3 separate regions of the Homo sapiens genome follow, and regions 1 and 3 are each linked to region 2. The links are contacts of gene promoters, found by promoter capture Hi-C in blood cells and fetal thymus (Javierre and others, 2016). All regions are on one chromosome and are shown on one strand. The core of a region is centred on a gene start or on the middle of the fragment in contact, and the rest is flanking DNA. Distances in the headings are between cores, read along the strand shown. Region 1 overlaps SORT1 (sortilin 1). Region 2 holds the start of MYBPHL (myosin binding protein H like). Region 3 overlaps SORT1 (sortilin 1).

Evidence for each region. Contacts are between HindIII fragments. The CHiCAGO score rates a contact against its expected background, and 5 or more counts as called.
Region 1: a contact is called between a fragment that was not itself captured here and the fragment with the promoter of MYBPHL in region 2, in 1 of 17 cell types (M2 macrophages). The highest score is 5.5, in M2 macrophages.
Region 3: a contact is called between a fragment that was not itself captured here and the fragment with the promoter of MYBPHL in region 2, in 1 of 17 cell types (M1 macrophages). The highest score is 5.3, in M1 macrophages.

Annotation. Positions count from the first base shown.
Region 1 is chr1:109,339,449-109,343,156 of GRCh38, reverse strand. SORT1 (sortilin 1) reads left to right here. Exons shown (of 20, transcript NM_002959.7): 9 at 999-1,143; 10 at 2,278-2,433. Among named protein-coding and RNA genes, the nearest start is that of MYBPHL, 34 kb to the right of the region's middle. The HindIII fragment of the contact is 2,521 bases long and covers 1,192-3,708 here.
Region 2 is chr1:109,305,424-109,309,142 of GRCh38, reverse strand. MYBPHL (myosin binding protein H like) reads left to right here and starts at 2,132. Exons shown (of 9, transcript NM_001010985.3): 1 at 2,132-2,296. The coding sequence starts at 2,152. RefSeq lists enhancers at 1,136-1,874, 1,875-2,614. The HindIII fragment of the contact is 12,327 bases long and covers 1-3,719 here.
Region 3 is chr1:109,354,437-109,358,321 of GRCh38, reverse strand. SORT1 (sortilin 1) reads left to right here. Exons shown (of 20, transcript NM_002959.7): 4 at 2,853-2,955; 5 at 3,791-3,885. Among named protein-coding and RNA genes, the nearest start is that of SORT1, 42 kb to the left of the region's middle. The HindIII fragment of the contact is 584 bases long and covers 1,001-1,584 here.

The sequences.
Region 1 (3,708 bases), core at 1,203-3,702, 34 kb before region 2:
GAAATTGAGTAACTTACCTAGGGTCAACCAGTAGTGGAATCCTGCTGGAAATCAGACTCAAATTCCAGAGGTAGCTTCCTATGCTATACTGCATATATGGTATAATGCTGTCTACAGAATTAAAATTTTGCGATGTACTTTTGAACTCTGGTTTCTACCTACAGTAATGAGAATAAGATTCAAAGTAATGAGACATGTTGGTATAAGTTGAATAAGTTAAATGTACTTATCACTGAACTTTAAAGAGTATTTAATCTAAGGAAACACCGACATTAATTCTCATGCTCAGGCTAACTGTATCTAGTAGCGATGTTAAGCTATTTATCAGAGAGTTAAGTTTTAATTGCTTTCTTAACAGACTCTTTTCGTCAGCCAAATACTCCCTAATCAGTTTCCTTATAGTAATTTCCGACTCTCCTTGGCCTCTTTCCAGCCCATGCCTGTTCCCTTCATCCTGGCTATTCTGAGAGACTTCCTTAGAGAGAAGGCGTGTTACATCTTGACTTCCCTTGTGATCTCCCAAACATGGGTTTCATCTCTATTTTCTAGACCCTTAAGTATATAATTCTTTAAATTATGCAAGCACTGTATGAAAGGGACCAAACTTTTATGCAGTAGTCATCATTTTAAGAATTACCTGAGTGTATGCAAATGGCTATAAAGCCAACCTAATGTTCTCATCAAATCCTTAGCTCTACTGAAGGAGGTGGACTATCAGAGACCAAGACTATACTATCTTACAGGGCCGCATCAGAATGAAGAATTCAAAGAGAAAGCCAAGATAGCCTTACTTAGAATAGAATGGATTGTTCCTTTACCTAGAACTTTGCTAGGGGCTAGAAATTGCTTTGGTAATTGGTACTATGACCTTTCATTCATAGCAATCGTACCCAGTAGAGAAATGGATAATAGTAGTTATTTAAAACATTCTTGTTCATGTCCCTGCCCATGGCATCTTGGCAGAAAATTAGAAAGATAAATATTGACATCTGTTCTAGGATACAACAAGAAGGATCCACGTTTCAACAGATCAAGGGGACACATGGAGCATGGCCCAGCTCCCCTCCGTGGGACAGGAACAGTTCTATTCTATTCTGGCAGCAAATGATGACATGGTATTCATGCATGTAGATGAACCTGGAGGTAAGAGCTTTTTAGTGGCTTACCCTTAAAAGCATAGAGATGTAAGCTTTGAGCAGCTTTTATTTTTACATGTCGAGTTTTCCTCTTACCCCTAGAAATTTATTAGTGCCCTACTGATTTTTCTGTCCTAGAGATCATCTGTAGCCCCTGTTAAAAATGCCACTTGTTTTGGTAGCTTGTGTGTATGTTCAGGTGTTCTAGAGCAGAGCTGCTCAAAGAATGGTCAGCAGACTGGTACTGATTTGCAAACTATCTGTTACCAGATAAGTACAGAAATTGAGAGCAAGAGTTTGGAAACTCTTCTAGCCTTTTGACAAAGCAATTTTATGTCTGTTGGATCTAATGACAAAAAATTAGGGGTTTATGGCTGGGCGCAGTGGCTCACACCTGTAATCCTGGCACTTTGGGAGGCTGAGGCGGGCAGATCACGAGGTCAGGAGATCGAGACCGTCATGGCTAACACAGTGAAACCCCATCTCTACTACAAAAAATACAAAAAATTAGCTGGCCGTGGTGGCGAGCACCTATAGTCCCAGCTACTCAGGAGGCTGAGGCAGGAGAATGGCATGAACCCGGGAGGTGGAGCTTGCAGTGAGCTGAGATCGTGCCACTGCACTCCAGCCTGGGCAACAGAGCGAGACTCCATCTCAAAAAAAAAAAACTTAGGGGCATATATTTTGTTTACCTTTTCATTTTCTAATGATTAGTTTTTATTATGTTTTACAATAGCATCAGTTTGTGACATATTGGAAATCTTACAAATTGATCCTTCACTACAGATAGTTTGAGAAGCATTGTTCTAGAGTGTAAAGATTTAAAAATATGTAAACTAAACATAGGGCCTCTCCCACCAAAATATATCTGGGAAGAGTTTTTCTGTAGCATCTGATTAATTTATTCAACAAACTCAGCATCTGCCATATTCCAGGCACTAAGCTGGGTACTAGAATTAAAGATGGGCATAAAGATCTTGAGTATCAAACCTTGATTAATTCTCAGGTCTGAGTCTTCATCATGAAGAGACACAATTGGCTACTGTGTTTGGTCAGGCAGGTAATCGTGTGTGGTTAGACTATTGTTTTTCTCTTTGGTTCCACCCAAGACTTAGTATTTTTGTTTGTTTGCCTATTTCAGACACTGGGTTTGGCACAATCTTTACCTCAGATGATCGAGGCATTGTCTATTCCAAGTCTTTGGACCGACATCTCTACACTACCACAGGCGGAGAGACGGACTTTACCAACGTGACCTCCCTCCGCGGCGTCTACATAACAAGCGTGCTCTCCGAAGGTGAGTCTCGGCATCGCAGTGGTGTACTGTGCCTTCAGCTGCATGTGGTAGGATTTGAGGCTTCGGGGAACCTGTCCCCTAGTAATGTTGCTTGCCAAGCCAACAAGCCTACCCATGTACATTTTTTTGTTTCCTTTTTTTTTTTTATTGTGGCAATATGTCTAACAAAATTTGCAGTTTTTAACATTGTATAGGGTACAATTCAGTAGCATTAAGCACAGTCACAATGTTGCACAACCATCACCCCTATTTCCAGAGCTTTTTCATCATCCCAAATAGAAATTGCACCAGGTGCACAAGCACTCCTCGTTCCCCACCCAGTCACCCAGCTCTGGTAACCAACATTCTATTTTATGTCTCAATGAATTTGCCTATTCTAGGTAGCTCATGTAAGCAGAATCATACACTATTGGTTGTTGTATGTCTGGCTTCTTTCATTTTGCATATTGTTTCAAAGTTCAGCCACATTGCAGCATGTTTTAGAATTTCACTTATTGCTTTTTAAGACTAGAATATATTCCTTTGTTTGAATATAGCACCTTTTTTTTCTTTTTCTTTCTTTTTTTTTTTTTTTTTTGAGATGGAATCGCTCTGTTGCCCAGACTGGAGTGCGGTGGCGTGATCTCAGCTCACTGCAACCTTGGTCTCCCAAGTTCAAGGGATTCTCCTGCCTCAGCCTCCTGAGTAGCTGGGTTTACAGGTGTGTGCCACCACACCCAGCTAATTTTTGTATTTTTAGTAGAGATGGGGTTTCACCATGTTGGCCAGGTTGGTCTCGAGCTCCTGACCTCAGGTGATCTGCCTGCCTTGGCCTCCCAAAGTGCTGGGATTCCAGGCGTGAGCCACCATGCCCAGCCTGTTTTTTATTCCTCCATTGATGGACACTTAGGCTGTTTCCATTTTCAGCTCTTATGAATACTGAATGCTGCCATGAACATTGTTATACATGTAACTGTTTAAGTCAATGCTTTCAGTTCCTTTGGGGATATATGTAGGAGTGAAATAGCAGGATCACATGATAATTCCATGTTTCTCTTTTGGAGGAAATACCAATGGGTTTTCCACATGGTTGTACCATTTTACATGCAATACAAAAGGATTCCAATTTCTCTACTTCATTGCAAACACATTATATTCTCCTATTTTTGTAACAGCACTCCTAATGGGAGTGAAATACTATCTCGTTTATAGCTTTGATTTGCATTTCTCTAATGACTAAAGATGTTGAACAACTTTTTATATGCTCGTTGGCCATGTGAATATCTTCGTTGAGGA
Region 2 (3,719 bases), core at 883-3,382:
CCATCTGCTCCTCTTACATTTCTCTTGCTGTTCTTACGGGCCCTTTCTTGTCCCTTTCATTTAAGGACCTTTGGAGAGTTGCAGCCTTCCTCTCTTGCAAAGCATTTAAGAGAGGTTCCTGCCCACCCGTCTGGAACCGTTAGCCATCCTACCCTGCTAGCCTGGGGCAATATTCCATGTAATACTCCAGCACCTTGGTCTGAAGATGACAGGGCAAAGCCCTTGTTCCTGAGGCCCATCTGATGGGCGAGTTCCTACCCCAGGACATTATCTAAGATCGTTGTTTTATTTGAAGGAATTCTATCTAACATGGTATTCCAAGATTTCCTGCGCCAGAGTCACTAGGTTGGTTTTTTTAGGTGCAGATTTCTGGATAGCACCCCAGACCTATTGAATTAGACTTTCTGATGGGCAAACCTTAGGAACCTGCATCTTAAAGTTGATTCTTTACACCTTCGCTCCAACAAAGGGCTAAGACTCAGCCTGGGCCAATTTCCTCACCAAAAGATGGGTTACGTGTTGTGTAAAAGGGGGTGTATTTGGGGTCTCCTGGCTAGGAGACTGTCCACACTTACGGGGCCTTGGCTGGGTCAAGCAGGAAAAATAGTTCAGAAAGACCTTCAAGCTAGTTCTGATATGGCAAAAACCCAGTCTTCTGCCAACCAAATCAACCCCATAGGCCATCCAAGGCCCCAATAAACAGATTGTCCTGGGCCTTAGCTCCTATACCAGTTACAAAGAGGCTGAGCTTCTGTCACCCCAAGATAACACAGGCTCCTGGGATCTTACCAATTACCCCAAAATTGAAGGCAAAAATGAGTAAGAAGTCAGTCCATTTGTTCAACTGCACCCATTTTTTTTCCATGAAAAAAATACAGGGGTGAGTAGGGGGCTGTGGGAACCCTATACTTTCCACTCAGCTTTGCCGTGACTCTCAAACTGCTCTAAAATTAAAGCATTTTAAAATGCAGAGGGATGCTGGCTTCTGGAGATAAGAAGGTAGGAGTATGATAGGTGGCAGTGTCCATGGCATGTACAACACGTATAGAAAGATGGTTTGCTAAGTCTGGAAATCATGTAGGACCTGTAGTATGTGACTAGCACCTGCTGTGAGCTGGCCACTTTCCTATAGATTGTATCATTTTATCCTCAACACAATCATGGCATCATCCCTTGTTTCATAGACTGGGACTTGAGACTCCGAGTCGGCCATTTGCCCAGAGTCCCAGCTGGTGAGTGAGTGGTACAGCCAGAAGTCACACGCAGGTCTCTGAGCTCGCCTCCCTCCACCACTGCTGCCTCTCCCTTTATTTGTACTTCATCTAATAGGCAAGGCAGCCATTGACAGCTCTCAAAGGGGGAAGTGCTGGCCTGACCTAAAAATAGCTTACATTTATCAAGCACTTAGTCGGCTACACTCTGCTAAGCACTTTACAGAGATTACCTCTTTAATCCTCACAACGACCCTATGGTTATAATTATCTCCATTTTACAGATGAGGAAACAGACTGAAGAGAGACTGTGAGGTGTTGTGAGTCACACAGCTAGTTGGTGACAGAGCCCCAAGTGGCACCTGGGCAGCCAGTGCGAGTGCAGTCTCCACCTACCACTGCGCTGTGCCCGCTGCCCCCGGGGAGCGGGGGAGGATGGGACAGGCCCTGTAAAGGTCGAGTTGATAAGACTTTACAATTCATTGAATGTGGGAGCAGAGGGAGAAAGAGCAGTTCAGGCGTTGCTGTGAGTCAGCTAATCCTGGGCCCCTTCTTTGGGACCTGAATGCCCCACGGGATGAACTGGAGGTCAGGAGCAGAGATGTCACTCAACCCTCCCTACAGAAATTAGAGGTCCCTTTTGGATGGTGTGTTCAAGCTCTCCCTCCCTGGTGCTGTGGGGGGTGTCATCTCTCTCCCGAGATAACAGGGACACCTCAGTCCTCCTGGGGCTATTCTGGGCTGCTGTCTGATCCTCCTCTCTCCCCCAACCCCTACTTCAGCCTTTCTGCTGGGCGTAGCTGAGTGGGGAGGGCCAGCCCAGTTACGTAACCCTGTGGCTGGGACCCGGGAGGCCAGCCTGGGAGCAGGTGCTCAGCCCCTCCCTCATCACCAGCAGTGAAAATCTAGAGCTGGAGCTCAGCCTCTGGGAAGGCCCAGCATGGAGGCAGCCACAGCTCCGGAGGTGGCCGCAGGATCCAAGCTGAAGGTGAAAGAAGCCAGCCCAGCGGATGCTGAACCACCCCAGGCTTCACCTGGACAGGGGGCTGGCAGCCCCACTCCCCAGCTCCTGCCCCCTATAGAAGGTGACCCATGGCAGGTGGGGAGGGTGGGGAGGCCGGGTGGTGGGAGTTGGGGAAGACATCGCCACCTTCCTGAACGGCGCCTCAGGTTTTCTGCAGAGCTAAAGACTCTATAGGATTGGTGATTAGGCTGGAGATCATTCGTGAGAGCCCCCATCCCCTGTCCTTGATGGAGTCTAACTTGCTGCTCAAATGTCCCTGCTAAGTTTTTGTGTTTTAGCTGAGAAGTCAGTGATGGTGTTGGTGGCACTTTACAGTGACTAAAAATGATCTGTTTATATTTTTACCTTTTAAAAAATTGTCATAGGGACTGGGAAGACCTGATATACTAATGGCCAGTCAGGAAGGGACTGAGGGGTAAGAGATAGTGACTGTCTGCTGAAGGAACAGGGAAATAAAATGCTATGGCAATGGGGAGGCTAAGAGTGGGGCAGCACAGTGACACTCGGCCTCCTGCTGGGCAGTACCACGGGGTCAGGACCTCCTCCAATCCCCCACTGCTCCCATAGGAGATCCTGACCCCTCAGAGTCTGAGCTCCACGGAAGTGGAGCTCTCCTGGGAGAAGCATTCAATTTCCCCTTCACGATGGTCTCTGTGTGCCTCTCAGCAAAGAGGCGTTCCCAAGTGAGGAATTCCAACCCCGAGCTTCCTGCCGCCCATCCCTGAATGCCCTGGCTGAGGCCTCTGTAGCTAACCACTTCGTGGCGCTCACCTGAAAGTCTTAAGAGGATGAAAAGACCACAATCAAGAAACACGTGGACTCCTAGGGCAGGAAGAGGCAGGGGAAAAGATATACTAGACTTGGAGGCAAAGCTCTAGGCTCAATTCCTAGTGCCGCCTCTAACAGCCCTGTGACCTTGGACAAGTCACTGGACTGCTCAGTTTCCATTTTCACTCTGTAAAATGGTGATTAATAACATCTACCTATCAGGGTAGTTGAAAGGATTGCTGAGATGATCCAGGGTGCCTTGGAAGAGGCCAAACTAAGATGTAAATAAATGATCAAATATTTCCAAGTGAGAGGTGAAGGCTGCGTTCTACCTCCATAGGGTTGTGCAGCAGACTCTGTCTGCCTCTTATCCTCATGGGAGAGGCCAGGTTTCCAGAAACTATTTGAATGTCAAGGGCAGAGAGCTGGCCAAGTTTGTCCCGTTGAAGATGAAGGGAGCAAAAGTTAGTGTAAATATATTAAGCTGGGGTGATGGAGGCAGAAAACCAGTTTCTTCCCTTAAAAGGCCCAGAGAATAAGTGACAGGCAGCAGGAGAATGAGAGCCAGGACTGCTGACGCCTCAGCTCTCTCTACTGGTCTTCCCAAAAGCACAAGGGAGAGTGCTCATCTCCCCCATGCTTCTCCCCTCTGGCTGCAGCCAGCTCCTGACAGCCCCCAGTCACGGGCCCGCAAATGCAGCCCAAAGCCTCTCGTG
Region 3 (3,885 bases), core at 43-2,542, 50 kb before region 2:
ATCTTCATGATATGTATGCTGATAGAAAATAAAGCTACATTTAAATAAAGCATTATGTTAAAAAATATACCCCTGGGCCCAAAGTGGCCTTGCTAGAACCCTACTTAAGTCCCAGCAGGTTGATACTAGTTCATTTTCTCCATTTATTTAACTGACTAAAGTACCAGAGTGCTGTAGCAGGTGATTTTTTGTTTTGCTCATGCTGGTTTCTTTTTTTGAAGGGCAGGGATGTGTTTGTTGTGCCAAGTTCTTAAAAAGCAAGCAGGCTTGCCAACAGGTTTGTGGAGATTCTCTGGGGATGTCATGAAGGAGGACCAATTTGTAAACTAGTACTAATCAGGCTGCTTCAACCCCTTTGGAAGATTTACAGAGCTGTTGATGATACATGCACTGTAGAGCTGGGAATTGTTTATGCACATCTCTTGGCCAGCTGTCAGGAAGATAAGAGCTGATCTACTGCAAAGCCAAAGAAAGGGTAATATAATATAGGACTCTGTTGGGTGGCGCCCAATTGTATTTCATTTATCTAGGAATTTTCTGTGTGTGTGTATGTACTTAAGGAAGGATAGAGTCATTCAGACAACTTAGACATATGTAGTTTGTTTCAGCATATTATCAGGGACCTCTACATACACACATGGATACTTCCCTTCTGTCTCCAACTTTCTCTTAGCTGATCTCTTCTGCCAGGTCATAAGCCCCCAGCAAGACAGAGGAAGACCCCAGTTTGTAAGGGAAAAAATCCTCACAGATAATTAAAAGTTATCTCCAGTTTAGGGCTAAAGGTTCAGAGAATTGGACTATAGTTTCAATTTTGCCCTTAATTAACTAGTTGACTTTTGATAAATTGCCTTCCCTTGCAACTCCTCATCTGTGAAATGAGGGAGTTGGACAAGATGTTCACTTCAGCCCCTTACACTGCTCATGGTTCTGCAATTCTTTATTTGTTGAGGCCGCTACCAAAACCTGTAACATCATTTACATCATGTACATTCAAGCTTCGCTTAATGATGGGGATACATTCTGCGAAGTGCATCATTAGGTGATTTCATTATTGTGCAAACATCACAGAGTGTACTTACTCACACCTGGACAGTATAGCCTGCTACACACCACAGCTATATGGTATAACTTCTTGTTCCTAGGCAACAAACCTGTAGAGCATGTTACTGTACTGAATACTGTAGGCAGCTGTAACACAGTACTAAGTATCTGTATATTTAAACATAGAAAAGGCATGGTAACAATATGGTTTCATAATCTGGACTCACCATCATATAAACAGTCCATTGGTAACCAAAACATCTTCATGCAACACATAACTATATTCTATCATTGAAGACCACTGCAGATTACATTTATCTGTGTGCAGAAATTTGCAGTGCACAGCAGTCTTCATTGATGGATACTTAAATTTAATGAACATTAAGATTTAGCATTTTGTATTGTGTAAGAGAGCTATACATAGTATTAAACCTGTCAGGGTTAGACAGCTATGGAATTTTTGCTTTTATTTTCCAGAATCTAAACATGGATTCGAATACTTCTCAAAGATATTGTTGGAATGAACTTTTGGAAAAAGCTTGGAAACTCTGAGAGTTGAGATTAAGTTTGTTTGTTTTTCCTAGCTGTATTTCATGTACTGAGTGCCTTACAGACTTCTGCCTAGGGATGGTAACTTCTATGGGGAAAAACTTCAAGAACTTGCTACAGCTTCATTTACAGCTTTTTCATAACTACTGTGGATTAATAGATTAGTTAGAAGCCTTTGGGAGCACTTTGCATAGATCTCACCTTAAACTAACCTGAATAATAAGGGAATAGTTGATTCTGTAACTAAGTACAGAGGAATGACAGGCTTCAGGGTCGATTCAATTCAGTGTCATAGGCTCTGCTTCTCGGTATTCTGAAATTACCTTCTCTGTGCTCCCATTGTGACAGAATGACGATAGCAGTCTTTACTGTGTGTTCACATACTGCATCATTGGGGTTTCTCAACCTTAGTACTCTTGACATTGGGGCCAGGTAATTCTTTATTATTGTGGGACTGTCCTGTGCCTTGTAGGATGTTTGGCAACATCGCTGGCCACTACCCACTTAATGCCAGTAGCACCTCAGCCCTTCATTGTGATAATCAAAAATGTCTGTAGGACCGGGCACAGTGGCTCATGCCTGTAATCCCAGCACTTTGGGAGGCCGAGGCGGGCGGATCACTTTGAGCTTGGGAGTCAAGACCAGCCTGAGCAATGTGGTGAAACCCCGTCTCTACTTAAAATACAAAAATTAGCCAGGCGTGGTGACACGGACCTGTAATTCCAGCTACTCGGGAGGCTGAGGCTGGAGAATCACTTGAGCCTGGGAATTGCACCACTGAGCTGAGATTGCATCACTGCACTCCAGCCTGGGTAACAGAGTGTGATCTTGTCTCAAAGGAAAAAAAAAAAGTCTGCAAACATTACCAAATGTTTCTTGGGGGACAAAAGCACCCTGATTGAGAACTGCTGGTCTGAAGGAATATAGACCATTTTATCAGGTAGCTATCATAAGTGGGAGGCAGTGTGCTTCCTAGAAGACCCCAAATTTCCCACCCACCTTTTATCTCCCATTGGCTCATCCTGAGTCACTCCCCGATTCCTGAACCCCCATCACTGGTGAGTGGGTTTGTGGGGGGGGGGGCGGGTGGAATGTTCTTCGGACTCACCAGGGCACCTCTGGAGCTAGGAATGTGGCTATTCAGGGTGAGCCGAGTCTCTCAGCATGATTGGTGGAAAGGGAGAATGAAAGCTGAGTAGGAACTCAGTAATATCCATGACCACTGCACCCTAAATTTGCCCTTTTTTTCTTCCTCTCAGTGAGGATTATGGGAAGAACTTTAAGGATATTACAGATCTCATCAATAACACCTTTATTCGGACTGAATTTGGCATGGCTATTGGTCCTGAGAACTCTGGAAAGGTGAGACTCATTCTTGTATACATAAAGCTTGTGCTTGATACCACATGCAGAGCTGTCAGATATTAGTATTGGCATGGTCCAGTGATTCACAGTAATGTATTTTAGTTTAGTATTGCTATATTTATATTTTAAAATTAAACACAATTTTTTAAGGGTCTCACTCTGTCTCCCAGGCTGGAGTGCAGTGATACCGTCACGGCTCGCTGCAGCCTTGACCTTCCAGGCTCAAGGGATCCTCCCACCTCAGTCACTTGAGTAGCTGGGACTACAGGCTCTTGCCACCACTCCTGGGTAATTTTTGTATTTTTTTGTAGAGGGTTTTGCCATGTTGCTCAGGCTGGTCTTGAACTCCTGGGCTCAAGCAATCCACCCACCTCAGCCCCTGAAGTGCTGGGATTACAGGCATGAGCCACTGTGCCTGCCTTAAACACAATTTAATATCGATCATATAAGAATGGAACTCTGAGCACACAGGTTTATTTGTTTTTGTTCCCCGCCCAAGGTGCACCAAAGCCCTTAATAATTATGCAGCAGTTGCTTAACATTACAATGTATATAACCTATGACAACATTTTAGTTTTTTGGAAAACTAATCTCAGTTAGCCTAATCTAGGCTTAAACCCACAGATATGATGTCCCAGCTCAGTTCAGGGTGTTATTTTTTTATAAGAATAAGACCCAAGGGGTAGAGTGGAACAACTAATCAGTTTTTATAACTCTTCTTATTTCTAGAACTAAAATTTCTTAACTAATGTCTGGTGAAAATGGTGTAAGAACTCCTGTGCTTGCATAGATAGTATCATACCCTGAATCAGATCTTTCCTCTTCCTATCAGGTGGTGTTAACAGCAGAGGTGTCTGGAGGAAGTCGTGGAGGAAGAATCTTTAGATCATCAGATTTTGCGAAGAATTTTGTGCAAACAGATCTCCC